Linked DNA regions of Homo sapiens: all the other regions are linked to region 2. The links are contacts of gene promoters, found by promoter capture Hi-C in blood cells and fetal thymus (Javierre and others, 2016). All regions are on one chromosome and are shown on one strand. The core of a region is centred on a gene start or on the middle of the fragment in contact, and the rest is flanking DNA. Distances in the headings are between cores, read along the strand shown. Region 1 overlaps SETD5 (SET domain containing 5). Region 2 holds the start of CAMK1 (calcium/calmodulin dependent protein kinase I). Region 3 overlaps FANCD2 (FA complementation group D2). Region 4 holds the start of TATDN2 (TatD DNase domain containing 2). Region 5 overlaps VHL (von Hippel-Lindau tumor suppressor). Region 6 overlaps LHFPL4 (LHFPL tetraspan subfamily member 4).

Region 1 (4,042 bases), core at 102-2,601, 300 kb after region 2:
ACTTCCAACACTAGGTCAACTACAGCTAACCGACAAAGAATGGTACCAGAAAACCAGATACCATACCATATCAGTCTTCAAATTACGTTATCTTAGAATCTTTAACAACTGAGGAGAGAGAGCTTTACTTTCCTAACAAGCTAGAGTCAAAACACCAAGAAAATCTCTAATATACTAGTGGAATAAAACCTTTTTCAGTTTCATATTAACCTGTGAACTACTACTGATTCAGAACTTAGTAGACTGTCACTGAATTATGCCCTAATTTTTTATTGGAAGGGGATAGGGTTAAAGTTCAGTTGACTATTTCTGAGAGACTCTAACTTTCTCTTCAAGAGAAAAAAGGTCCCATGTATTAATAGATTCAGAGTTAATGTTACTAAATCTGAAAGCTTATAATAGAAACTCTAGCACTAAAATCTGAGTTTGACATATCCACAGCAGTAGGGTTTGTGAGAAAACCACTCTACTGATATCCTAAAGAGATAACACTTGTATAGCAACCATATCCTAACCATTGCAGAATGGTGGCCTGTGACAGAAAGCCAGGGACTCACTTGGTTTCCTTGTGCACCCAGTAAGGAGCTGCAGAGAAAATGTAGGAAAGCTGAAAGACAGAATGACTTTCCCTTCCTGAAGAAGCTGCTCAATCTATCAACCAAAGGTCAAAACATCTGGTTTACAGAGCTGTTAGATTAACCCTAGAACAAGGCATAAGTCACCACCCAACTCAAAAAACAGCTCTTACAACTTTTGACTCAACTTTCCTGATTTATTAGCCTTTCTTTAACAAGGCTCCTACCACATATCAGCATCTTGACTTCTAGATTCTATTCTTTAATAGAACTCCAGCCACCCCCTCCCCCAAACGGCAAAAACCAACCCCACCAAACACACACACAACACACACACACACAAACACACACGCTCCTACCTTCATTTTCCTCCATCTACATTGACAGTCCTGTGTAGTCACAGTCACACAGGAAGACTCATTCAACTTACTGTGACTGAGTGGCCGCCCTCCAGCCCATCACCCCACTGACTCAGATCCCCAGCCCTCCCCACACACTCAGGAACACATTCATGAACACTCACTCTCAGCCTCCAAGTGTGATTGAGATGGTGTGATAACTACCTCGGGTGACAGGGACTCGGGCCTATGCGCAGGGGAACTCTCAGGGGAGGATATGTTCTAGAGGAGGGAAAAGCATCTTGTTATTATTCATCTACTCGAAGTCAAGAAGCAAAACAAAACAAAAAATAAAAGCAAGCATAGATGTTAGCCATAACTTTTTTCGGGGGCGGGGAAGTTGAATAAGAATGCATAGGGGAAATATTTAACTGCAGAACTCATCTCAATGGACAGAATGACTTGTTAAAATGCTTCCTGGTATCTCTGAAAGCATTTAAGGATAAATTGGTTATAATGTTTCATGCTGTAAGTAAACATCTCAAGCACATACAAGGAAAGAGTTAGACTGGTGAAATTTTAGTGTTATACGTCTTTGTATTTTAGATGAGAGTTTAGCAACCTACAGTATTTGTTATTGAGGGGCACCCTACCCCTTATTCCTCCTTACATGGACCTTGTTCCTTCATCCAATGCCTCTTCTGCTTGTCACATTTCTTTATTCTCTTATATGCCTCAGGCCCTCCCAGTGCTATCCAGGGGGAGACATTAGTGTGCTGGGGGCTGACATGGTTAGGGAGATGGCCAGTTCCTCTTGAATGACAGTTACAGGAAATGTGATTGATGGAATCCCTAGCTCACAGGCTAGAGTTGGTTCTTGGCATAATCTAATTAGACCTGAGCCACCCCTATTAATGTTATTTTGTAAAATCCATTGTACTTTTGGCAACAGAGCAGAAAAAGCATGTATGTGTATACTTAGGTCCCTGTATCCTACAGAGGGTAGGACTTTACCTTGGGACTTTCAGGTGAGGCAGCAGTCCCATAACAGAGACTGAGCAGTGAGTGCTTAATGGAAAGATGTAAATGGGAACACGTGAAGAGAGTGAAGGTGGTAGTGTGACAATGACTCAGGGGTGCTAGGGCTGAGGTAAGGAGAGGGTGCCTAATGTAGACTCTGAATAACTGTGGCCTAGGTGGCAGGCACATGCTGAGGTAGGGGAAATGAGGCTGCTTCAGCAAAGCAGGGTTTTGGCTGTGAATTTTACTTGGCATGGACAGTGGGTGGTGTACATCTAGGTGCACGTATGTGTGAAATGGCGGGTGGAGTATGGCTCTCAGGGCAAGAATAGGAGGGGAGGGTTATTCTGGTAGAAAGGAGAGGCTAACTAAGCTTGTCCTCCCAATGTTGCTTCCACTCTTCTTTCTAGATGCTTTCCCCTCCTGAAGATCTTGTTCTCTTCCACTGTTTATCTTCTTACCTTCTTCCCCTTAGCACTTAAGACTTCTCACCATTTTCCTGAATGCTTTTTTCCTTCTCAAAAATATCCTTCCCCAAACTAATCTAGTAAGGTTGTTTTTTTTTTTTTTTTTTTTTTTTTGAGAGAGAGTCTCCCTCTGTTGCCCAGGCTGGAATGTGGAATGCAGTGGCGCAGTCTTGGCTCCCTGCAACCTCCCAGGCTCAAGCAATTCCTTTGCCTTGGCCTCCCGAGTAGCTGGGATTACAGGTGTGTGCCACTGTACCTGGCCTAAGCTGGTCTTTAAATTATTTTTAGAGATGGGATCTCACTGTTGCCCAGGCTGGCATGTAGTGGCACAATAATGGCTCACTGCAGTCTTAAACTCCTGGTCTTAAGTGATCTTCCTGCTTCAGCCTCCCAAGTAGCTGGGACTACAGGTATATGCCACTACACCTGGCTAAGTTTTGTATTTTATTTTTGCAGAAATGTGGTCTCACGATGTTACCCAGGCTGGTCTCAAACCCCTGGCCTCAAGCAATCCTCCTGCCTCAGCCTTCCAAAGCACTGTGATTACAGGTGTGAGCCACCATGCCCAGCCTAAGCTGGTCTTTATACGTGACACCTTTTTGATATTTCACAATGTGTCACAGCCTTTGCTACAAAAAAGGCTCCCCACCTCTCTGTACTAGAATACAGCAAAGAGTATGGCCATTAAAATGGTGATTAGAATGGGTCAGGGTGGTGAAATCTGTTCTATTATTGATGAGAAAGGTAAAATTTCCTTAAATTGCAAGTGAAACCATGCCTTGGACCTTTTACTATTTAATATTTTCCTTCCCTCCTGGTATTCTAACATTATGCATGGACTGTATTATTAAAATGATCACCAATTAAAAAAAACAAAACAAAACAAAACCAAAACCACTTTATATTTGCAGTGTTTAATAGTTATCCCAAATGCTACAAGGGATAAGGAACACACTGAGTACTGAACCCGCTTGTTTTGCAAAGTGACTTACCTTCTGATTTTCTTTTTTTTTTTTTTTTTTTTTTGAGACGGAGTCTTGCTCTGTTGCCCAGGCTGGAGTGCAATGGCGCGATCTCGGCTCACTGCAAGCTCCGCCTCCCGGGTTCACGCCATTCTCCTGCCTCAGCCTCCCGAGTAGCTGGGACTACAGGCGCCCACTACCACGCCCGGCTAATATTTTGTATTTTTAGTAGAGACGGGGTTTCACCACGTTAGCCAGGATGGTCTTGATCTACTGACCTCGTGATCCGCCTGCCTCAGCCTCCCAAAGTGATGGGATTATAGGTGTGAGCCACTGCGCCCGGCCTCCTTCTAATTTTCATAATTCCACATTTATAATAAAACCTGTATTGATAAAGTATGACACTCTATTCCTATAATCTTATGCCCTCCAGGGAGAATTCCTCTCATGATACCTTACTATAAAGCTCTAGGTGCAAACTGCAAAGTCAATTGCAAGTAGACAAAGTCAAGTTAGAAAGGCCTGAATCAGCTGCTTTATTATCTGGCTGAAAGAATTTCATAAATAATCTGGTAAAGAGTAATTTCCCTAGATAACTGATATGTAACCAGGAGGTTTTTTCCCTCACCCAGAAAGAGGTCTGCTCCAAAAGTAGAGGTCTAGGGTAAGAAAGAATACAG
Region 2 (4,124 bases), core at 1,552-4,051:
CCATTACAGTACACTTGCTCAATATAGCACCCTAATTCTCCTGGCAACAGTTTTGGAGGCCAAGGGGTGAACATGTCACTCTATCACTCAAGCAGAGCCAGAGTCCTTCCCTGAGAATGAGATAGGAAATTGGGAGGATGCTTTCCTTCCACTGTGTTTAATTGGAAAGCTGGGGCTGCCTCACTCCATGTTTCCTGCCAACTAGAAGTTCACTCTGGAGAGAAAAAGAGGCCAACGTGTGAAGAAAAATCAAGACAAGGAGAGAGGAGGGAAGACAGAGAAAGCAAATCCTATGAGTACTACATCTCCAGTTCCAGTCTCCAAGCCCCTAATCTCTGGTGTTTTTCCTGCAATCTTGTGCCAGCTATTGTGAACTATAGATTCCTCTTGGATGAAGCTGGTTTAGGTTGGCATTCTGTCACTTGGGAAGCGAAAGAATCTCATCAGTTAGTCTGTGTGTGTTTTCAATACATTATGGAATTTTCCTGCAATGACCATGTATCACTTGTTCAATAGAAATACTAAGAAAGTAAAGATAATGTGTTTGTTAAAGAAAAGAAAACACGAGGCCTCTCAGAAATGCTCAAAAGCAGGAAAAATGTAAAGCACACCATAGAAGCTGTACAAGTCAGCTGGGCGCGGTAGCTCATGCCTGTAATTCCAGCACTTTGGGAGGCTGAGGCAGGTGGATCACCTGAGGTCAGGAGTTCGAGACCAGCCTGACCAACATGGTGAAACCCCCATCTCTACTAAAAATACAAAAATTAGTTGGGCGTGTTGGTTCACGCCTGTAGTCCCAGATACTTGGGAGGCTGAGGCAGGAGAATTGCTTGAACCCAGGAGGCGGAGGTTGCAGTGAGGCGAGATGGCACCATTGCACTCCAGCCTGGGCAACAGAGGGAGACTGTCTCAAAAAAAAAAAAAAAAAAAAAAAAAAGAAGTTGTACAAGTCCTCGAAAGGACAGAGGTCATCTTATCACCCAGGGGGTGTTGTCATCAAGATGAACAGGAATTTGTGGTAAAAGAACCCCTAGCTCAGTGGGTGTGCTTGGTGGGTATAGGGGAGAGTGGGGGCTCAGCCCTGAGCAGGAAATGTATTTTTCCATGAACTAAGGAGTCTGAGATACTGAGATTTGGAAGATGGATCCCTTAACCCCTCATCCCTGGCCAAATCAAGTCCTCTCTCTGAGTCTCAGTTTACACTGAGTCTAGCTCTCATGTTTTGAATAGTGTTCTAGGCACTTCATATCATTATATCATAGAATTCTCAGAACTCTGAGTCAATCTTCAATATTCCCATGTTCCCGAGTAAGAAACTGAGGTTCGGAGAGGTAAAGCATGACCAGGATCAGTTAGACTCCAAAGCCTTTCCAGGAACCTCAGCTATCTTCCTCTCTCATCTGTAAGATGGGCATAATAAATTGGCCAGGTGCAGTGGCTCATGCCTGTAATTCCAGAACCTTGGGAAGCTGATTGGGGAGGATTGCTTGAGCCCAGGAGTTTGAGACCAGCCTGGGCAATATAGTGAGATCCCCATCTCTACAAAAAATAAAAAAGCCAGGTGTGGTGGCACGCACCTGTAGTCCCATCTACATGGGAGGCTGAGGTAGGAAGATGACTTGAGCCCAGGAGTTTGAGGCTGCAGTGGGCCGTGATCATGCCATTGCACTCCAGCCTGGGTGACAGAGCAAGACCCTGTCTTAAAAAAAAAAGAAAAAGAAAAAAAGAAGAAGAGAAAGAAAGAAAAAAGAAAGAAAGAAAGAGAAAAAGGAAATGAGCTGGGCATAAGCACTGTTCTCTCCCCATCACCAGCTGGAACATGCAAGAATTCAGGAGTAGGGAGTGGCACTTGGAGGCCCTTGGAGGTGGAGTGGGGTCCCAAGCAACGTGCCTCCTCCGGCTGCCCCCAGTTCAGCCCCATCCCCAATTCCTGCGAGTTGCTCCCCCCGCCCCCTCTTTCCACTCGGCACCAAATTTCTTCCCAAGGAAGGCCTTGAGCAAACCGACCTTTGGCCTCTTGCCTGCCGTCCTAGTTGCAGGCTCTCTCCCCTAACCTGGACCCCAGCCATCAAACTCTGGAGCCCCGCCAGTCACGTGACACCTCGGTCCTTTTTGGCCTGTTTCCTTCAGGATCCCGATTTAACTTCCTCCTCCCCAATTCCCTCTGCCCCCAATACCTCTAGGCACCACCACCCGCTCTGAGGAGCAAGTGTCTGGGGCTGAAGCCTCAGCTCCATCTTGCAGAGGAACCGGGGCCTCAGTCTTCCCACCTGTCAAGTGGGGCCCACACCCTGCGACCACCTCCACTCTCTTCATTGCCTAGTCTTGCCCGGTCCTTCCCCACTCCCTCACTCCCCCATCCCCCACCAGACTCCCGTGCAGTTCCAGGGCCTGTTTCCCTTCAGGGCACGGAGAAGGGAGACAGAGCCCTAAGGGAGGTCGCAGAACTGGTCTGAAAGAAAATCCACCAGGCCACAGGGTGAGTTTGGCCGGCCTCTAGCTTCAGACAGACGGGGTTCGAATCCTGCTTTGCTTCCGACCACCCGCTGATTTGAAAATCATCTCTCCGGGCCTCAGTTGTCCCCTCTGTGAAATGGACCCCGCTTAAGACCAAGGGCGGGAAGCGTCCAGCAGGAGATCTCTGACCAGAAGCAGGGAGATGGCCTCCACCCGTGCCCCTTCCCCAGCCTTGGAGCGGTGCCTCGCCTCCCAATCCCGGGTCCCTCCGCCGCAGGCTCCACCTCCACTGACATCAGAGCCGCAGGCGGGCGGAGAGAGCCGCCGAGCCGAGCCGAGCCCCAGCTCCAGCAAGAGCGCGGGCGGGTGGCCCAGGCACGCAGCGGTGAGGACCGCGGCCACAGCTCGGCGCCAACCACCGCGGGCCTCCCAGCCAGCCCCGCGGCGGGGCAGCCGCAGGTACAGCCGGGCCCCCCATCCCTGCACCCCTGGGCGCTGCGTGGGGGCGGTGGGAGCCCCTAGCCTCTGGGTATCCTTTCCCAAGGAGTGGCCACTGGGCACTCTCCCGGGCGGGCTGGACCCTGAGGGGCAGGGCTGGGCCTTTCTCCACCTCTGTCCCAGGCCCAGCAGGTGCCAGGCGGGCCTATGGGACACTGAGTGGGTAATAGAGAAGGGGGCCTGTGTGAGCGCCTTCAGCTGGGCCTGACTGGAAGGGCGTGGGCATTTGGAGGTATCCATGGGGTGGGGGGGCTTGCGGAGTGTACTGTCTTAGGACAGGCGTGTGGGTCAGACATGGGTGGAGGATCTGGGAATCTGTGTGTTTTTTGTTCCAGAGGGGTGTCCACGTGTTTTGTGTGCTGGTATTTGGCTCTCAGGGTCTTAAGTCAGAGTTAGGAGGGGGTGTACAATTGTGTACTGAGGATGTTTGGAGTTAGGTGTGTAAGGACTTGGGGTTTGGTTTGGAATACAGGAGCTTCCAGGGGATGGGGTAGAGGAGCTGGAGGGTGTAGGGTACGTCTGGTATATGAGGGTGTGTGTGTGTGTGTCTGGGTGTCATCTTGTGTGGGTGCGGGTGGATGTGTGTTTTGGGGTGTAAGAGGGAGCTGGGTGAGGGATGTTTGGATGGACAGGCAGGTGTTCGGGTGCAGGGCTGTCTGGGGCACTGTGTGGTGTGGACATGTGTGCTGATGTCTGGGAGTACATGTATGATCAGGTGTCACGGGATGTGGATACAAGGCGTACTGGATCTGGGAGGCAGGTGTTTGAGTTCAGGGCTGTGGAGGGGGCTTGGTGTGGCATGTCTGCTACAGGGATGTGTGTGGATCTGTGAGGGTTGTATTTGGTAGGCCTCCATGTGGGTTTCAGACTCTGCCTCTAGAGCTTACACTCGAGTCTCCTTTCCTAGAAGATTCTGCCCCTGGATGGGTGGGCAGGGTCCCCTGGGAAAAAGGTCCTGTTCCAGGAGTGGAATCTCACACCAGAGGCCCTAGTCAGGGCACCTTCTCCTCATTCTCCCTTAGAGAAAAAGAGAGAAGGAAAGTGCTCTCCCTGAGGTCACAAAGCATGCTGGGCTCTGTTTTGGCCTCATCTGTGGATGGGTTGGGAGGCTGTGTTCTCTGAATGGGGCCCATTCTGGCTTCATATTGGAAGTACCAGCCAAGGCCATT
Region 3 (3,943 bases), core at 134-2,633, 260 kb before region 2:
GATCAAGACCATCCTGGCTAACACGGTGAAACTCCGTCTCTACTAAAAATACAAAAAATTAGTCAGGCATGGTGGCGGGCGCCTGTAGTCCCAGCTACTTGGGAAGCTGAGGCAGAATGGTGTGAACCTGGGAGGTGGAGCTTGCAGTGAGCAGAGATCGCGCCACTGCACTCCAGCCTGGGCGACAGAGCAAGACTCCGTCTCAAAAAAAAAAAAAAAAAAAAGACTTAGCTTTGATAGCAGATAGCCACTAAGTGTTCTAAAAAAGACCTGCCATAACCTTAGCAAGATAGAATAATCTGCTCCCCCAAAACAGAATCTTATATGGCTTTATAAATTTTCTTCTGAAATTATTCTGACACTGATACAGCTGCTTTCTGGATATTTATTTTTTCATAAGAAAACACAAAATAAATAATATATAATATTTTTTCTAATAAAAGGATGAGAAATGCTTTACTTAAGACATAGTAATGAGGACCAAAGACTGTACCATTTTCTTTTTCCATTTTTGTTTTTTGGAAATGGAGTCTCACTCTTGTCGCCCAGGCTGGAGTGCAGTGGTGCGATCTTGACTCACTGCAACTTTCACCTCCCGGGTTCAAGCAATTCTCCTGACTCAGGCGCCCAAGCAGCTGGGACTACAGGCACATGCCACCATGCCCGGCTAATTTTTTATATTTTAGTAGAGACGTGTTGCCCAGGCCGGTCGCAAATTCCTGAGCTCAGGCAATCCGCCTGCCTCGAGCCTCCCAAAGTGCTGGGATGATAAACGTGAGCCACCGCGCCCGGCCTGACTGTACCATTTTCTAAAAAGCAATTTCAACTTTGTCTCAAGATGGATGGCCCTCTGATTTCTAATCTTCATTGCCTCTCTATTTAGAAAACCCATGATTCAGTCCTGAACTATTTCATTAAACCCAGAGAATAAAATTAGATTAAAATATTACCTAGTTGATTCTGACTCTCTCCCGTTTTAAGAATAATTCCTGATATCTTAAGAAGCTTTACAAAGATGCTGTCATTTTCTTCAACTTCATTAGCAATATGAGATTTCTTTGTCTTTTTGGAAAGTGGTTGCTTCCTGGTTTCTGAAAATAGAAAAATTTTCAAGAATATGGCAAATAGTAAAGGAAAAATTAAAACTTAAACCCAGGAATAATAATCATGAGAGGAAAACTGATGTGTCCTTAAAAATTATACTAGGATTGATGCTGTAGTGAAATAAACTGTCTTCAGCAATAGTGGCTTCCAAAACAAACAAATAGAATTATTTTCACCTATTTTCATTTGAAGAATTCAAAATGTGCCATTTCTGGCCAGGCAAGGTGGCTCATGTGGTAATCCCAGCAAATTAGGAGGCCAAGGCAGGAGGATCACTTGAAGCCAGGAGTTCAAGACCAGCCTGGGCAACAAAGTGAGACCACCCCCCCATCTCCCCCCCTTCACCCCCATTCCCCCCCTCCACACACAAACTAGTTAGGTGAGGAGACGCACACCTGTAGTCCCAGCTACTTCGGAGGCTAAGGCGGAAGAATAACTTGAGCCCAGGAGGTTGAGGCTATAGTGAGCTATGATATTACCACTGCACTCCAGCCTGGGTGACAGAGTGAAATCCCCATCTCTAAAAAAATAAATTCAAACAAATAAGTGCCTAACAAGAATAACCCACAGAAATGTTTTCCACCCAAATACTAAACTAGCCAGTGTCTCTCAAGCTGTTGCCTGCAAACCACTGTACTGGAATCCCTGGGAAGCTTATTAAAATGCATATTTCCGACCCAGCACAGTGGCTCACGCCTGTAATCCCAGCACTTTGGGAGGCCGAGGCAGGCTGATTACCTGAGGTCAGGAGTTCAAGACCAGCCTGGCTAACGTGGTGAAACCCCATCTCTACTAAAAATACAAAATTAACTGGGTGTGGTGGCGTGCGCCTGTAATACCAACTACTCGGGAGGCTGAGGAGGAGAATCACTTGAACCCGGGAGGCAGAGGTTGCAGTGAGCCCAGATCGCGCCACTTCACTCCTGCCTGAGCAACAGAGTGACACTCTGTCTCAAAGGAAAAAAAAGGCATATTCCATGCCATATACCAGAGTTACTGAGTCAAAATCTTGGGAATGGGACCTAGGAATCCGAATTTTTTATGTTCTTCAGATAATAATCCTGATACACACCAAATTTGAGACTCAATGATCTGAATAAAGGGTAGACAGAATGGGGAAGGTTCTTTGTATCATATCTTTGACTACAATGCTCAGATAGGTTTAATCCCAAGACTTTCAACCCATAAAAAGAAATAAGAAACAAGAAACAAACAGGTACTTGAAGCCAAGTTTAAAATTTACTCTTCTCCCTTAATGATGCCATTTTGTTTTTTCCTTCTTCAATTCCTCTCCCTCTTTCTTTTTTTTTTTTTTTTGAAATGGAGTCTTGCTCTGTCGCCCAGGCTGGAGTGCAGTGGCGCGATCTTGGCTCACTGCAAGCTCCGCCTCCCGGGTTCATGCCATTCTCCTGCCTCAGCCTCCCAGTAGCTGGGACTACAGGTGCACACCACCACGCCCGGCTAATTTTTTGTATTTTTAGTAGAGACGGGGTTTCACCATGTTAGCCAAGATGGTCTCAATCTCCTGACCTCGTGATCTGCCCGCCTTGGCCACCCAAAGTGCTGGGATTACAGGCGTGAGCCACCGTGCCTGGCCTCCTTTCCCTCTTTCTAATAAAGCCTTAATCAGAATGAGACAAAGACCACTACCTTCCTGAATGAAATGTAAAACACAACCAGAATGAAAGTTTCAGTTTGTTCATTACTGACCAAGAGAACCCAAATCCCTTCTAATAAACTTAATTCAGAAGTCTCTTCTCTTTTGGAGAACAGTATTTCCAAAGTATAACATTTACTTTCAGTAATTTCCTATATTATTCCTCTTCAGTTTCAAATTTTCTACCAATTTCTCTATATTCTAATTCTAGAACCCCATTACTAATCAACCATTGGAGCTTCACAACTTCCTTTTTTTTTTGAGATAAGAGTCTTGCTCTGTTGCCCCGGCTGAAGGGCAGTGGCGTGATCTCAGCTCACTGCAACCTCCACCTCCGGGGTTCAAGCAATTCCCCTGCCTCAGCCTCCCGAGTAGCTGAGATTACAGACACGTGACACCACGCCCAGCTAATTTTTGTATTTTTAGTAGAGATGGGGTTTCACTATGTTGGCCAGGCTGATCTTGAACTCCTGACCTCAGGTGATCTGCCCGCCTTGGCCTCCCAAAGTGCTGGGATTACAGGTGTGAGCCACTGTGCCCGGCCCACAGTTTCCGTTTCTAAATCAAGCCTATTCCTTACATGGTTTTGGACTCACAATTTTTATCATTATAATCACTGTTCAGCAAGCATTTTCATCTATTTCGGTTGAATTGACCAAGAATCAGACTTAACTTCCAATAACCTAGTAAGAAATAACTCTTCAATCCACAAGTCAGTAGAAGCTAAGCTATGAGAATGCAAAGGCATTAAGAATGACATAATGAGGCCAGGCATGGTGGCTCACGTCCGATATCCCAGCACTTTGGGAGGCTGAGGTGGGTGGATTACCGGAGGTCAGGAGTTTGAGACCAGCCTGACTAACACGGTGAAACCCCTTCTCTACTAAAAATACAAAAATTAGCCAGGCATGATGGCATGTACATGTAATCCCAGCTACTTGGGCGGCTGAGCCAGGAGAATCGCTTGAACCCGGGAGGCGGAGGTTGCAGTGAGCCAAGATTGTGCCACTGCACTCCAGACTGGGCAACAAGAGCCAAACTCCATCTCAAAAAAAAAAAAAAAAATGATATAATGGGCCAGGCGTGGTGGCTCAAGCCTGTAATCCTTGCACTTTGGGAGGCCGAGATGGATGGATCACTTGAGGTCAGGAGTTCCAGACAGCCCCTGGCCAGCATGGTGAA
Region 4 (4,134 bases), core at 108-2,607, 480 kb before region 2:
TCCCAAACACCTAGAACATTGCCTGGCACAAACTAAACCCTCAACACATATTTGTTCAAAGCCTTGATTGAGTAGATGAGCGAAATGTATCTTCTCTGTGAAGCACTCCTTGGTCTGCTCAAAGTACTTATGAAACCCTCTTGCATGTTTCCATTAGGGAATTAACAATTTAACCTCCAAAAAAAAAAGAAAAAAAAAAAAAACTAGCACCACCAAGCAAAACCCCAACATGCTGGAAACTATGACTTTGGAGAAAAGCTACACCAAGAACCGCAATTCTTGGTTCTGTGATTCAGAGTGGTTCAAAGTACAAGGGCACACAATTCTTTAAACTGACAACTAAAATAAATACATTCTTCTCTTGAGCACATAATCCACCTTCTACTGCAGTGATTCTCCAACGGGGCTGCACGTTTACAATAACCTGGGGAGCACTGAAAAATCTGGAAGCCCAGACCACACCTCAGCCCAATAAATCAGTTTCTCTGGAGTAGGAGGCAGGCCCAAGTATTTTAAAGCTTTCCAAGTAGTTCCAAAGTGCTGCCGAGTTTGAAAATTACCTCTCTACTTAACTTCAGGCCACGCGCCTGGAAGACTGCTAGGTCTTCGAGTTTGGGGGGAGTGGACTTCTAGAAAGACCTTCCAGACCTTCAAGGATGTAATGTTTTGTAGTCTCCTTCCACCAAAATTCCCATCCCCAACCTCTCAAGCCATGTGGAAGGGGCTTCACCGATTGCAAAGCGTGGCAGCCACCTACCTTAAGGCTGCAGGCTTCCTCCTCTAGAGAAGCCATTTCTTCCAAAGAGGCGTTGGCAGGACGCAGAGGGGATCCCCCTGAAGACAGGAACCCCCGAGTGTTCCGAATCAGGCAGCCTTTGGAGGCGGCCCCGCCCACACCAGGGCCCAAGAAATGTGGGGAGAAGGAGGAGGAGGAGTTATTTCTGCGGCGGGATGAGCCCCAGGATAACCTCCGCGAGCAAGCCACATCGTCCTCCTTCTGGGCTTTCAGGCGCTTGGGGCTGCTGGGCCCTCCAGAACGCGACGCAGACCTCTGAGCTGGCCGGCTGGAGGGGGCCACATCACAGGGCTCCCGGAGGCAGCTGCGCTTGCGGGGACACCCTTCCGACGTGCTGCTCCAGTTGTGCTTGACCTTGCCCCGCTCGGACGCCATGGGCACCTGCAAGGTACAGGGGGCCTGGATTCCAACACCACCCTTCCTGGCGACCCCACCTCAGATTCCCGCCACCCCGGGCCCAGGAGGACGGCAAGACATAAGGGCAGAGCCAGGGGCTAGCCTCACTGACCTTTCCCTCTTCTTTCCACTGCCCATCACAGTTCTCAAGGTTTCAGAGATGCCAAACCGTGTTGGAGAAGTCAAAGCGATCCAAAATTGACTAAAGGCTGCCGTCGGTTTCCAAGCCCACAACGTGCTTCTGAGATCAGGAAGCCTTCACTTTGCCCAGCGCTACTTCGGAGATGCCTAAGCGCTTCCGGGGCTACGAAGCGCTTTGATCAGTTTGCAATATAAAGCCCTTTAGAACTGTCAAGCGCTTCAGAAGACCACATGGCGCTTCAAGATCCACACATGGCTGCCGGATCCGCGGCCCCGGGGCCGGGCGCTTAGCCCGTAGGCCAGGGCCAGACCCGGGCGCCGCAGCCCGCCCTGCTCCTGCGGCCCAACCAGACCCGGGCCGGAAGGGGCCCGAGCGGCCCCTCGGGAGCTGGCAGCGCCCTCGACCGCCAACTCAGGACGCCCCCCGCCGGCTGCCGCAGCTGTCCCGCCGGGCAGCCCGCCGCCTGCCCCAGCCCTACAGCCCCGCCTGGCCCGGCCTCCGCCCGAACTGCGACCACTCCGGCCTCCGTGGCGCCCGCCCTCCGGAACGAGCCCTGCGGCCCGCAGGCCGGAGAGCGACAGGGGCGGGGCCTGCGCCAAACGGAAGGCGCCCATTGCTCGACCCGGCAAGGGGCGGGACTCCGAGCAAGACGCAGCCCGCCTCAAAGCCAGGCGCCTTGGAGTCGGGACGGTACGCCTTAGGAAGCTCGTCCATTGGTCAGAAGCCAGATGGGGCGGAGCCACTCACGTGGGCTCGAACAGCGGGAAGTTGAGGCCAGCCAGATGTGCAGGCAGGTGGTGTCCGCTGACGCGCCTCACTTAACGCTGTTTTCCTCAGCGCCGGCCGCTGTACCTGAAGCTTTCAGACCTGGATTTCTCATCGAGCCAAAGCAAACCGTGTACTGAGCATTATCACCCCACTTTATAGAGCAGAAAACTGTGGCTCAGAGAGACTAAGTACACACCCAGAAATGGGAAGAATTAGAATTAGAAGGCACCAAAAAAAAAAAAAAAAAGACTACACAAAAATGTGAACTATCCGCCTGGTGAAAAATATTAAAGACGGCTGGGCACGGTGTCTCACGCCTGCAATCTCAGCACTTTGGAAGACCGAGGCGGGAGGATGGCTTGAGCTCGGGAGTTAGAGACCAGCCTGGCCAGCATGGTGCGACCCCCATCTCTACAAAAAATAAAATTAGCTGGGCGTGATGCCAGCTACTCAGGCTGAGGTGGGAGGATCACTTGAGGCCGGGAGGTCGAGGCTGCAGTGAGCTGTGATCCCGCCACTGCACTCCAGCCTGGAGGACAGAGCAAGACCCTGTCTCAAAAAAGAAAAAAAATCAAAGACAAGGTACAAATTCAGAAAAATACTCGAAACATATGACAAAGGGCTGATATTCGATGTAGCAATTCTCCCAAAATAATAAAATAACTTAGTATTAAGACTGGCAAAGGAGGCTGGGTCCAGTGGCACACGTCTGTAATCCCAGCACTTTGGGAGGCCGAGGTGGGTGGATCTCTTGAGGCAAAGAGTTCGAGACCAGCGTGGGCAACATGGTGAAATCCTGTCTCTAGTGAAACACAAAAATTAGCCTGGTGTGGTGGTGGGCGCCTGTAGTCCCAGCTACTCAGGAGGCTGAGGTGGGAGGATCCCTTGAGCCTGGGAAGTCGAGGGTCCAGTGAGCCAAGATTACTGCCACTGCACTCCAGCCAGGGAGACAAAGTGAGACCCCTGTCTCAGGGAAAAAAAAAAAAAAAGGCAAAGGAAGCAATGAACAAAAACAAATCATGAAACGCTCCTAAATATAAGAAAGATGGCTCCACCTCAACCATTAAAAAAGTACATGTAAGGCCAGGTGTGGTGGCTCACGCCTGTGATCCCAGCACTTTGGGAGGCCAAGGCGGGCAGATCACGAGGTCAGGAGATCGAGACCATCCTGGCTAATACGGTGAAACCCCGCCTCTACTAAAAATACAAAAATTAGCCAGGCGTGGTGGCAGGCGCCTGTAGTCCCAGCTACTCGGGAGGCTGAGGCAGGAGAATGGCGTGAACCCAGGAGGTGGAGCTTGCAGTGAGCCAAGATTGCGCCACTGCACTTCAGCCTGGGTGAGAGACTCCGTCTCTAAAAAAAAAAAATTAATTAATTAAATTAAATTAAAAAGTACATATAAAATTATAATTTTCCACTCGTTAGATTGGCAATAATCAAAAAACAAGGTAAGGGGCCGGGTGCGGTGGCTCACGCCTGTAATCCCCGCACCTTGGGAGGCCGAGGTGGGTGGATCACGAGGTCAGGAGATCGAGACCATCCTGGCTAACATGGTGAAACCCCATCTCTACTAAAAATACAAAAAAAAAAACAAAAATTAGCCGGGCCTGGTGGCAGATGCCTGTAGTCCCAGCTACTCAGGAGGCTGAGGCAGGAGAATGGTGTGAACCCGGGAGGCAGAGCTTGCAGTGAACCAAGATCACGCTACTGCACTCCAGCCTGGGCAACAGAGCAAGACTCCATCTCAAAAAAAAAAAAAAAGCAGGATAATATACCTTGTGGCTGAGGATGTGAGGAAATGCACTCCCATACATCCCTGATGAACGTGTTAATTGATACAATCTCCTTGGAAGGTGGCATTGTCTGTAGTAGCTAGAATGAAAACAAAACCTCAATCTCTATCAGCTGGTTATATACATTAAGGAATATCCATACAATGGAATGTAAGGCAAAAAGAATGAAGTGATCTAAACTTACTGTTGAGGAGCAATAGCCAAGAAAGACATGAAAAAACAAAGGACCTAGAAAAGC
Region 5 (3,201 bases), core at 1-2,500, 380 kb before region 2:
ACAATGCCTAGTGAAGTCAGTTAACTTTCTTTTAAGCAATGGTGCCTATTTTACTCTGAGAATGAGACACTTTGAAACTAAGGAAGGAACCAGTCCTGTATCTAGATCAAGACTCATCAGTACCATCAAAAGCTGAGATGAAACAGTGTAAGTTTCAACAGAAATCTTCAATCTCCCATCCGTTGATGTGCAATGCGCTCCTGTGTCAGCCGCTCCAGGTCTTTCTGCACATTTGGGTGGTCTTCCAGATCTTCGTAGAGCGACCTGACGATGTCCAGTCTCCTGTAATTCTCAGGCTTGACTAGGCTCCGGACAACCTGGAGGCATCGCTCTTTCAGAGTATACACTGGAAGGGCAAAAACCAAATCCTCAGTGGCAGACTAGGGTCTCAGTACAAGGAACGAACAAGAGGCTTTGCCAACAACTACCTGTACTACTGATGGATCTCACTTTAGGTTAAAGAAAAAAAGTGAGTGCATGTATGTGGCAGTGTGTTATGCTGATGGCCCCCTATGGACACCTCATGGTGTTCATGCCTCTGTAGTAATTTCACCTTGAAATGGGCTGGGCTTGTGATTGCTTTAACTAACTGAATGTGGATGAAGCGACACTGGCAATTCTAGGCCGAAGCCTTAAAAAGGCCTGCTGACTTCTGCTTTTATACTTTTGAAAGCCCTGAGCTACCCTGCTAGAGAGACCACATAAAGAGGAACAGGCCCTGGCCAGGCATGGTGGTTCATGCCTGTGATCCCAACACTTTGGGAGGCCAACGTCAGTAGATCGCCTGAGCTCAGGAGTTCGAGACCAGCCTGGCAACATGGCGAAACCCCGTCTCTACAAAATACACAAAAAATTAGCCAGGCATGGTGGCACATGCCTGTGGTCCCAGCGACTGGGGAGGCTGAGGTGGGAGGATCACTTGAGCCCTGGAGGCAGAGGTTGCAGTGAGCTAAGATCATGCCACTGCACTCCAACCTGGGTGACAGAGTGAGACCCTATCTTGAAAAAAAAGAAAAAAGAAAAGAGAAAAAAAAAAAAGAGGGACAGGCCCAGCCCCCAGCTGCCAGCAAAAGGCAGCCACACCAACGACTACCACCAGCAGAGTAACTGCCTAGCTGAGCCCAGCCTGGACTACAGAATTATGAACAAATAAAATGGTGGGCTGGGCGCAGTGGCTCACGCCTGTAATCCTAGCACTTTAGGAGGCTGAGGCAGGCAGACTGCCTGAGCTCAAGAGTTCAAGATCAGCCTGGTCAACATGGTGAAACCCCCGTCTCCACTAAAATGCAAAAAATTAGCCAGGCTTGGTGGTGCACACCTGTAGTCCCAGCTGCTGAAGCAGGAGAATCGCTTGAACCCGAGAGGCAGAGGTTGCAGTGAGCCAAGATCACACGCCACTGCACTCCAGCCTGGGTGACACAGTGAGACTCTGTCTCAAAAAAAAAAAAAAGGTGGTTATTAGTTTTGGGGTGGTAGTCACAAAACACATAACCAAAACAATGTGTACTTAGAAAATCTAGGCCGGGCGCGGTGGCTCACGCCTGTAATCCCAGCACTTTGGGAGGCCGAGGCGGGCGGATCACGAGGTCAGGAGATCGAGACCATCCCGGCTAAAACGGTGAAACCCCGTCTCTACTAAAAATACAAAAAATTAGCCGGGCGTAGTGGCGGGCGCCTGTAGTCCCAGCTACTTGGGAGGCTGAGGCAGGAGAATGGCGTGAACCCGGGAGGCGGAGCTTGCAGTGAGCCGAGATCCCGCCACTGCACTCCAGCCTGGGCGACAGAGCGAGACTCCGTCTCAAAAAAAAAAAAAAAAAGAAAATCTAGTACAACTGAATTGGGTATCCCAATTCCTATTTTACACTCACTGGAAACGTACTCGAGGGTATTCTATAAGGCAAATTTACCAAATTTAACTTAGCAATGCTCATTTTTATATATCTACTTCCTTAAAACAGGATCTATACACACATAGTAGTTTGAATCCTATGAAACCCATGTATTTGGGGGGTTTTTGAGTTTTTTTTTTCTTTTTTTGAGACAGGATCTCACTCTGTCACCTGGGCTGGAGTGCAGTGGTATGATCATGGCTCACTGCAGCCTCAAACTCCTGGGCTCAAGGGATCCTCCCACCTAAGCCTCCCAAATAGCTGTGACCACAGGCATATGCTAAGATGCCCAGGTAATTAAAAAAAAATTTTTTTGTGGAGCTGGGGTCTCACTTTGTTGTCCAGGCTGGTCAAGAACTCCTGGTCTCAAGCGACCCTCCCGCCATAGCCTCCCTAAGTGCTGGAATTACAGGCATGATTACAGGCAGGAGCCACCACACACTGCTGGTCTTTAGTGAGGTTTTTTTTACCCACAGGAACATCAGTTTATTAGGGTTTACCCTGATAAAATCATTTGAGCTTCAAACAAATAGTGAAGTATTATACCAATCTTCAATGATTTAAAAAAAAAAAAAAACAGGCTGGACGCAGTGGCTCACGCCTGTAATCCCAGCACTTTGGGAGGCTGAGGTGGGCAGATCACCTGAGGTCAGGAGTTCAAGATCAGCCTGGCCAACATGGTGAAACCTCATCTCTACTAAAAATACAAAAATTAGCCAGGTGTGGTGACAGGCACCTATAACCCCAGCTACCCAGGAGGCTGAGGCAGGAGAATCACTTGAACCCAGGATGCAGAGGTTGCAGTGAGCTGAAATCGCACCACTGCACTCCAGCCTGGATGACACTGTGAGACTCTCTAAAAATAAAAATAAAAAAAAAAAAAACACCTCTGATTGGCACTGTGAGCTTGATTGTGTTAAATTGAAAATACATAGGCCAGGTGCTGTGGCTGATGCCTGTAATCCCAGCACTTTGGGAGGCGTAGGCGGGCAGATCATGAGGTCAGGAGATGGAGACCATCCTGGCTAACACGGTGAAACCCCGTCTCTACTAAAAATACAAAAAATTATCAGAGTGGGTGGCACACGCCTGTAGTCCCAGCTACTCGGGAGGCTGAGACAAGAGAATCACTGGAACCCAGTAGGCGGAGGTTGCAGTGAGCCGAGATTGCGCCACTGCACTCCAGCCTAGCTAACACAGCGAGATTCTGTCTCAAAAAAATAAAAAAAATTAGAAGTCAGCAACAAATAAGCCAAAATATCTCATGCTCTACACATTGTTCTCCTGGAACTCCAGGGCACAATTTGGCCAG
Region 6 (3,997 bases), core at 561-3,060, 270 kb after region 2:
GGAGTCAGGAAGGCAGAGTTGTGTGGGCTGAAGTCTGCGGGAACCCCAGGGTGACACAGGCAAGGGGTAGAAGTCAGAGTGGGGACCAAACCATAGACTGGGGCCCTGGGTTCTGCAGAGGTGTGGATGGGGCAGGTGGCAGGTGCTCCAGTGGGGGCCCCAGGTGAGGCCCTGATGGCCCTCCTGGGGCAATAAAGACATCATGGGAAGGGGGCTTTGTGGTTTGCCTCTGCTCTCGTCGGGCGATCTGGCTTTAGCCTTCAGGAGGAGGTAAGCAGAGGAGATCAGTGCCTGTTTCTGACCCCAGGAGGGCCTTGTTGGGCTCCAACCTAGAGCCTTCCGGCTTCAGGTCCCAAGAGAAGTCCCCCCCTAACTGTGACCCCCCTAACTGTGATCAGGGGTCTGCCATTGCCCGCTTTTCTCTGCCTGATCTGGGGACTCAGGAGAGGCCACGGCAGCCACAGCCTAGGGGTGGTTCAGTCCCTGGCCCACAGTCTGGTCAGTTGAGTCCTTCTGGGAACCGGGGCTATGAAAACTTTCGTCTTTGGGGACCGGTACCCATGAAGGAAAACTTTCCTGAGGGGGTGAGGACCAAAGAATCAAGATCCTTTTCAGGCCTGATAGCCAAGATGATGAGAACTTTTAGATAAGGCTGTGGGGAGAGTCCCTGGCCTTTTGAGCATCCTGCTTGGGCACACGGGGAATAACCTTTCTCCAGCTTCCAGTGTGAACTGAGAAAGAGAAAGGGAAACCCTGTCTTTGGAGAAGCTGGGATGTTCCCAGCACCAGAAACTTCTGCAGGCCCCTGCCTGGCCCACGGCTAACCTTTGGGTGGGACTGGAGTTTCCTGAACAGGGAACAAGGGAGCCTTCCGCAGAGCTCTGATGGGCAGGCCTCCGAGGGCCTGTGCTGTGTGCTGTTAGGATAGCTTGGTGTTGTCTATACCCCATTAGTAAGTTTTGTCTGAGTGTGTCCTCGCTGTTCATTGTCTAATTTGGTAACATTTATTTTGGTCCTGACCCCTTCTGCTGCTGCTGGGTTTAAGCTTCAGTGCAGGTGGAATGACATTCAAATAAAGAAACACTTTCTATCACCCACGCTGGCTGCCACTTCTCTGAGTCACTGGGATCAAGAGGGGTAAGATTCCAACCCTATGGATCAGGTTTGTCTGGTATTAACAGAACCCTACTACTGTGGCTTAACAAGATAGTTTATTTTACCATCACATTAAAAAAAAAAAAAAAAAAAAAAAAAGCCTGGAGGTGGGTAGATCACGGCTGATATGGCTCTCAGTGTTATCCAGAACCCAGGCTCCTATCTTTCTGCACTGCCATTTTCAATCCTGGCTACATCCTCAAGAACACCTCATGGCCCAACGTGGGCTGCTGGAGCTCCAGTCACCTGGTCCACATTTCATTTGAAGACTTCTGGAAATTCCATAGGACTGTGTCACTTGGGCCACATAACAGTAAAGGAGGCTGAAAAAGTGTGGTCTGTTATCTCGGCGCATTGCCAGCCCAAATAAAACTGGGGTTCTTGGCCGGGCAAGGTGGCTCATGCCTGTAATCCCAGCATTTTCAGAGGCTGAGGTGGGTGGATCACCTGAGGTCAGGAGTTTGAGACCAGCCTGGTCAACATGGCAAAACCCTGTCTCTACTAAAAATACAAAAATTAGCCAGGCATGGTGGTGCGTGCCTGTAATCCCAGATACTCAGGAGGCTGAGGCAGGAGAATTGCTTGAACCCAGGAGGCGGAGGTCGCAGGGAGGTGGGATGGCGCCATTGCACTCCAGCCTGGGCAACAGAGCAAGACTCCGTCTCAAAAAAAAAAAAAAATAGGGTTCTGATACAAAGGAGAAAGGAGTGAATAGAGAGAGGGATACAGTAATCTCTGCACACCTCTGACAGCACAGGCACGACTTGTCCAAGTCCATACAGGCAGAAAAGAGTAGAGCCTCATCTGCTCTAGCCAGAGTGCTCAGTCCAGTCACTTTGCCTCTCTCTAAAGCCCCATTGAATAAATAGAGAAAACAATAGTGACTCCCCCAAGGGAAGCTGTAAGCAACATACCAGGGAATATATGCACTTTGCTCTGCAGGGTATCTGGCACGCTGTAATGTGCGCAGTACCAGGTAGCTACATTGAAGACTTGGAAATGGAGTCCTCTTCCAACACATTTTAAGCACTTAGTGTATGCTAAGCACTTAAGCTAGAAAAAAAATGAGCAAAACAGAGATGCTGTCTTAAGCATAATTCTGGTTGGGGAGATGAACATGTGAAAATAACGCATGACTTGCCACATGCAGGGTATTGTGGGTATCCTAGGCAGGAATACTTTAAATGGCTTTTGGTGACGTGGGCAGCGTAGGAGGAGGTCTTGCTGTAGGATGAGAAGTTAGGCAGGAGGGGTCAGGAAGGTCAAAGAGAAGGCAGCTTGAGGAAAAAGACTGAGGTAGGCAGCAGAACTGTGTATGGAGGACGAAAAGCAACTTAGTTTGAAATGTGAAGTACGAGGCAGGGAGGAGTCAGAGATGAGTCTAGAGAGACAGGCGAGGGCCAGACCATGAGAAAGCTTGGGGGCCATGGACAGGAGTTTGGACTTAAGAGCAATGGGGAACCACTGAAGGATTTGAAGCAGAAGGAAAAATGACTCAATTTGCATTTTAGAAAGAGCACTCTGGTGGTAGCATTAGGGGGCTGGATTAGGGGTAGACTGTTAGCCCATTTCTGCATTGTTATAAAGCCATACCTGAGACTGCATCATTTGTTTTATTTATTTATTTTGAGATGGAGTCTCCCTCTGTTGCCCAGGCTGCAGTGCAGTGGCACAATCTCAGCTCACTGCAACCTCAGCCTCCCTGATTCAAGTGATTCTCCTGCCTCAGCCTCCTGAGTAGCTGAGATTACAGGTGTGCACCACCACACCCGGCTAATTTTTGTATTTTTAGTAGACATGGGATTTCACCATGTTGGCCAGGCTGGTCTCAAACTCCGGGTCTCAAGTGATCCACCCGCCTCAGCCTCCCAAAGTGCTGGGATTGCAGGCATAAGCCACTGCACCTGGCCTGCATAATTTATTTTTATTTTTTTGAGACAGGGTCTTGCTCTGTCACCCAGGCTGGAGTGCAGTGGTGAGATCACAGTTCACTGTAGCCTCAACTCCCAGGCTCAAGCAATCCTCCCACCTCATTCTCCCAGGTAGCTGGGACCATAGGCACCACCATGCCTGGCTATCTCTTTTTTTTTTTGAGATGGAGTCTCACTCTGTTGCCAGGCTGGAGTGCAGTGGCATGATCTCAGCTCACTGCAACCTTTGTCTCCCGGGTTCATGCAATTCTCCTGTCTCAGCCTCCCAAGTAGCTGAGACTACACACGTGCACCACCACGCCCAGCTAATTTTTGTATTTTTAGTAGAGATGGGGTTTCACCATGTTGGCCAAGATGGTCTCGATCTCTTGACCTCGTGATCCACCCACCTTGGCCTCCCAAAGTGCTGGGATTATAGGCGTGAGCCACTGCTCCCGGCCTTATTATTATAATTTTTTATAGAAACGGGGTCTTGTTATGTTACCCAGGCTGGTCTCAAACTCCTGGGCTCAAGCAATCTTCCTGTCTCAGTCTCCCAAAGTGCTGGGATTGCAGGCATGAGCCACTGCACCTGGCCAAACTGGGCAATTTATAAAGAAAAGAGATTTATTTTGGCGCATGGCTCTGCAAACTGTACAGGTAGCATGTTGCTGGCATTTGCTTCTAGTGAGGCTTCAGGAAGCTTACAATCATGGTGCAAGGTTAGGGGAAGCCAGCGTGTCACACGGCAAGGGCAGGAGCAAGACAGAGAGAAGAGGGCAGTCCCAGGCTCTTAAACAACCAGATCTCATGTGTGTGAATTAACTGTGCGAGAACTCACCCATCACCAAGGGGATGACACTAAACCATTCATGAGGGACCCACCCCCATGATCCACTCACCTCCCACCAGGCCCCACCGCCAACACTGGG

The links. The method cuts DNA at HindIII sites, captures the fragments that hold promoters and counts their contacts. A CHiCAGO score of 5 or more calls a contact.
Region 1: a contact is called between a fragment that was not itself captured here and the fragment with the promoter of CAMK1 in region 2, in 1 of 17 cell types (neutrophils). The highest score is 5.4, in neutrophils.
Region 3: a fragment that was not itself captured here is called in contact with the fragment with the promoter of CAMK1 in region 2 in 8 of 17 cell types (naive B cells, monocytes, activated CD4 T cells and 5 more); the score reaches 9.9 in naive B cells.
Region 4: a contact is called between a fragment that was not itself captured here and the fragment with the promoter of CAMK1 in region 2, in 9 of 17 cell types (naive B cells, erythroblasts, monocytes and 6 more). The highest score is 8.3, in naive B cells.
Region 5: a contact is called between a fragment that was not itself captured here and the fragment with the promoter of CAMK1 in region 2, in 1 of 17 cell types (monocytes). The highest score is 6.3, in monocytes.
Region 6: a contact is called between a fragment that was not itself captured here and the fragment with the promoter of CAMK1 in region 2, in 2 of 17 cell types (M1 macrophages and M2 macrophages). The highest score is 6.1, in M1 macrophages.

The regions. Positions count from the first base shown.
Region 1 is chr3:9,465,672-9,469,713 of GRCh38, reverse strand. The region is part of intron 18 of SETD5 (SET domain containing 5); the gene reads right to left. Among named protein-coding and RNA genes, the nearest start is that of SETD5, 70 kb to the right of the region's middle. The HindIII fragment of the contact is 1,914 bases long and covers 395-2,308 here.
Region 2 is chr3:9,768,624-9,772,747 of GRCh38, reverse strand. CAMK1 (calcium/calmodulin dependent protein kinase I) reads left to right here and starts at 2,801. Exons shown (of 12, transcript NM_003656.5): 1 at 2,801-2,916. It also overlaps a transcript of OGG1 not described here. RefSeq lists a silencer at 2,851-3,030. The HindIII fragment of the contact is 10,493 bases long and covers 1-4,124 here.
Region 3 is chr3:10,029,980-10,033,922 of GRCh38, reverse strand. It overlaps FANCD2 (FA complementation group D2), which reads right to left. Exons shown (of 44, transcript NM_001018115.3): 3 at 951-1,091. Among named protein-coding and RNA genes, the nearest start is that of FANCD2, 5.5 kb to the right of the region's middle. The HindIII fragment of the contact is 752 bases long and covers 1,008-1,759 here.
Region 4 is chr3:10,246,238-10,250,371 of GRCh38, reverse strand. It overlaps TATDN2 (TatD DNase domain containing 2), which reads right to left and starts at 1,913. Exons shown (of 8, transcript NM_014760.4): 1 at 1,305-1,913; 2 at 758-1,177. The coding sequence starts at 1,171. RefSeq lists an enhancer at 477-1,345 and a silencer at 1,598-2,027. The HindIII fragment of the contact is 1,674 bases long and covers 521-2,194 here.
Region 5 is chr3:10,146,932-10,150,132 of GRCh38, reverse strand. VHL (von Hippel-Lindau tumor suppressor) reads right to left here. Exons shown (of 3, transcript NM_000551.4): 3 at 1-346. The coding sequence ends at 168. Among named protein-coding and RNA genes, the nearest start is that of VHL, 6.8 kb to the right of the region's middle. The HindIII fragment of the contact is 5,547 bases long and covers 1-3,201 here.
Region 6 is chr3:9,495,461-9,499,457 of GRCh38, reverse strand. LHFPL4 (LHFPL tetraspan subfamily member 4) reads left to right here. Exons shown (of 4, transcript NM_198560.3): 4 at 1-1,097. Among named protein-coding and RNA genes, the nearest start is that of LHFPL4, 56 kb to the left of the region's middle. The HindIII fragment of the contact is 1,526 bases long and covers 1,048-2,573 here.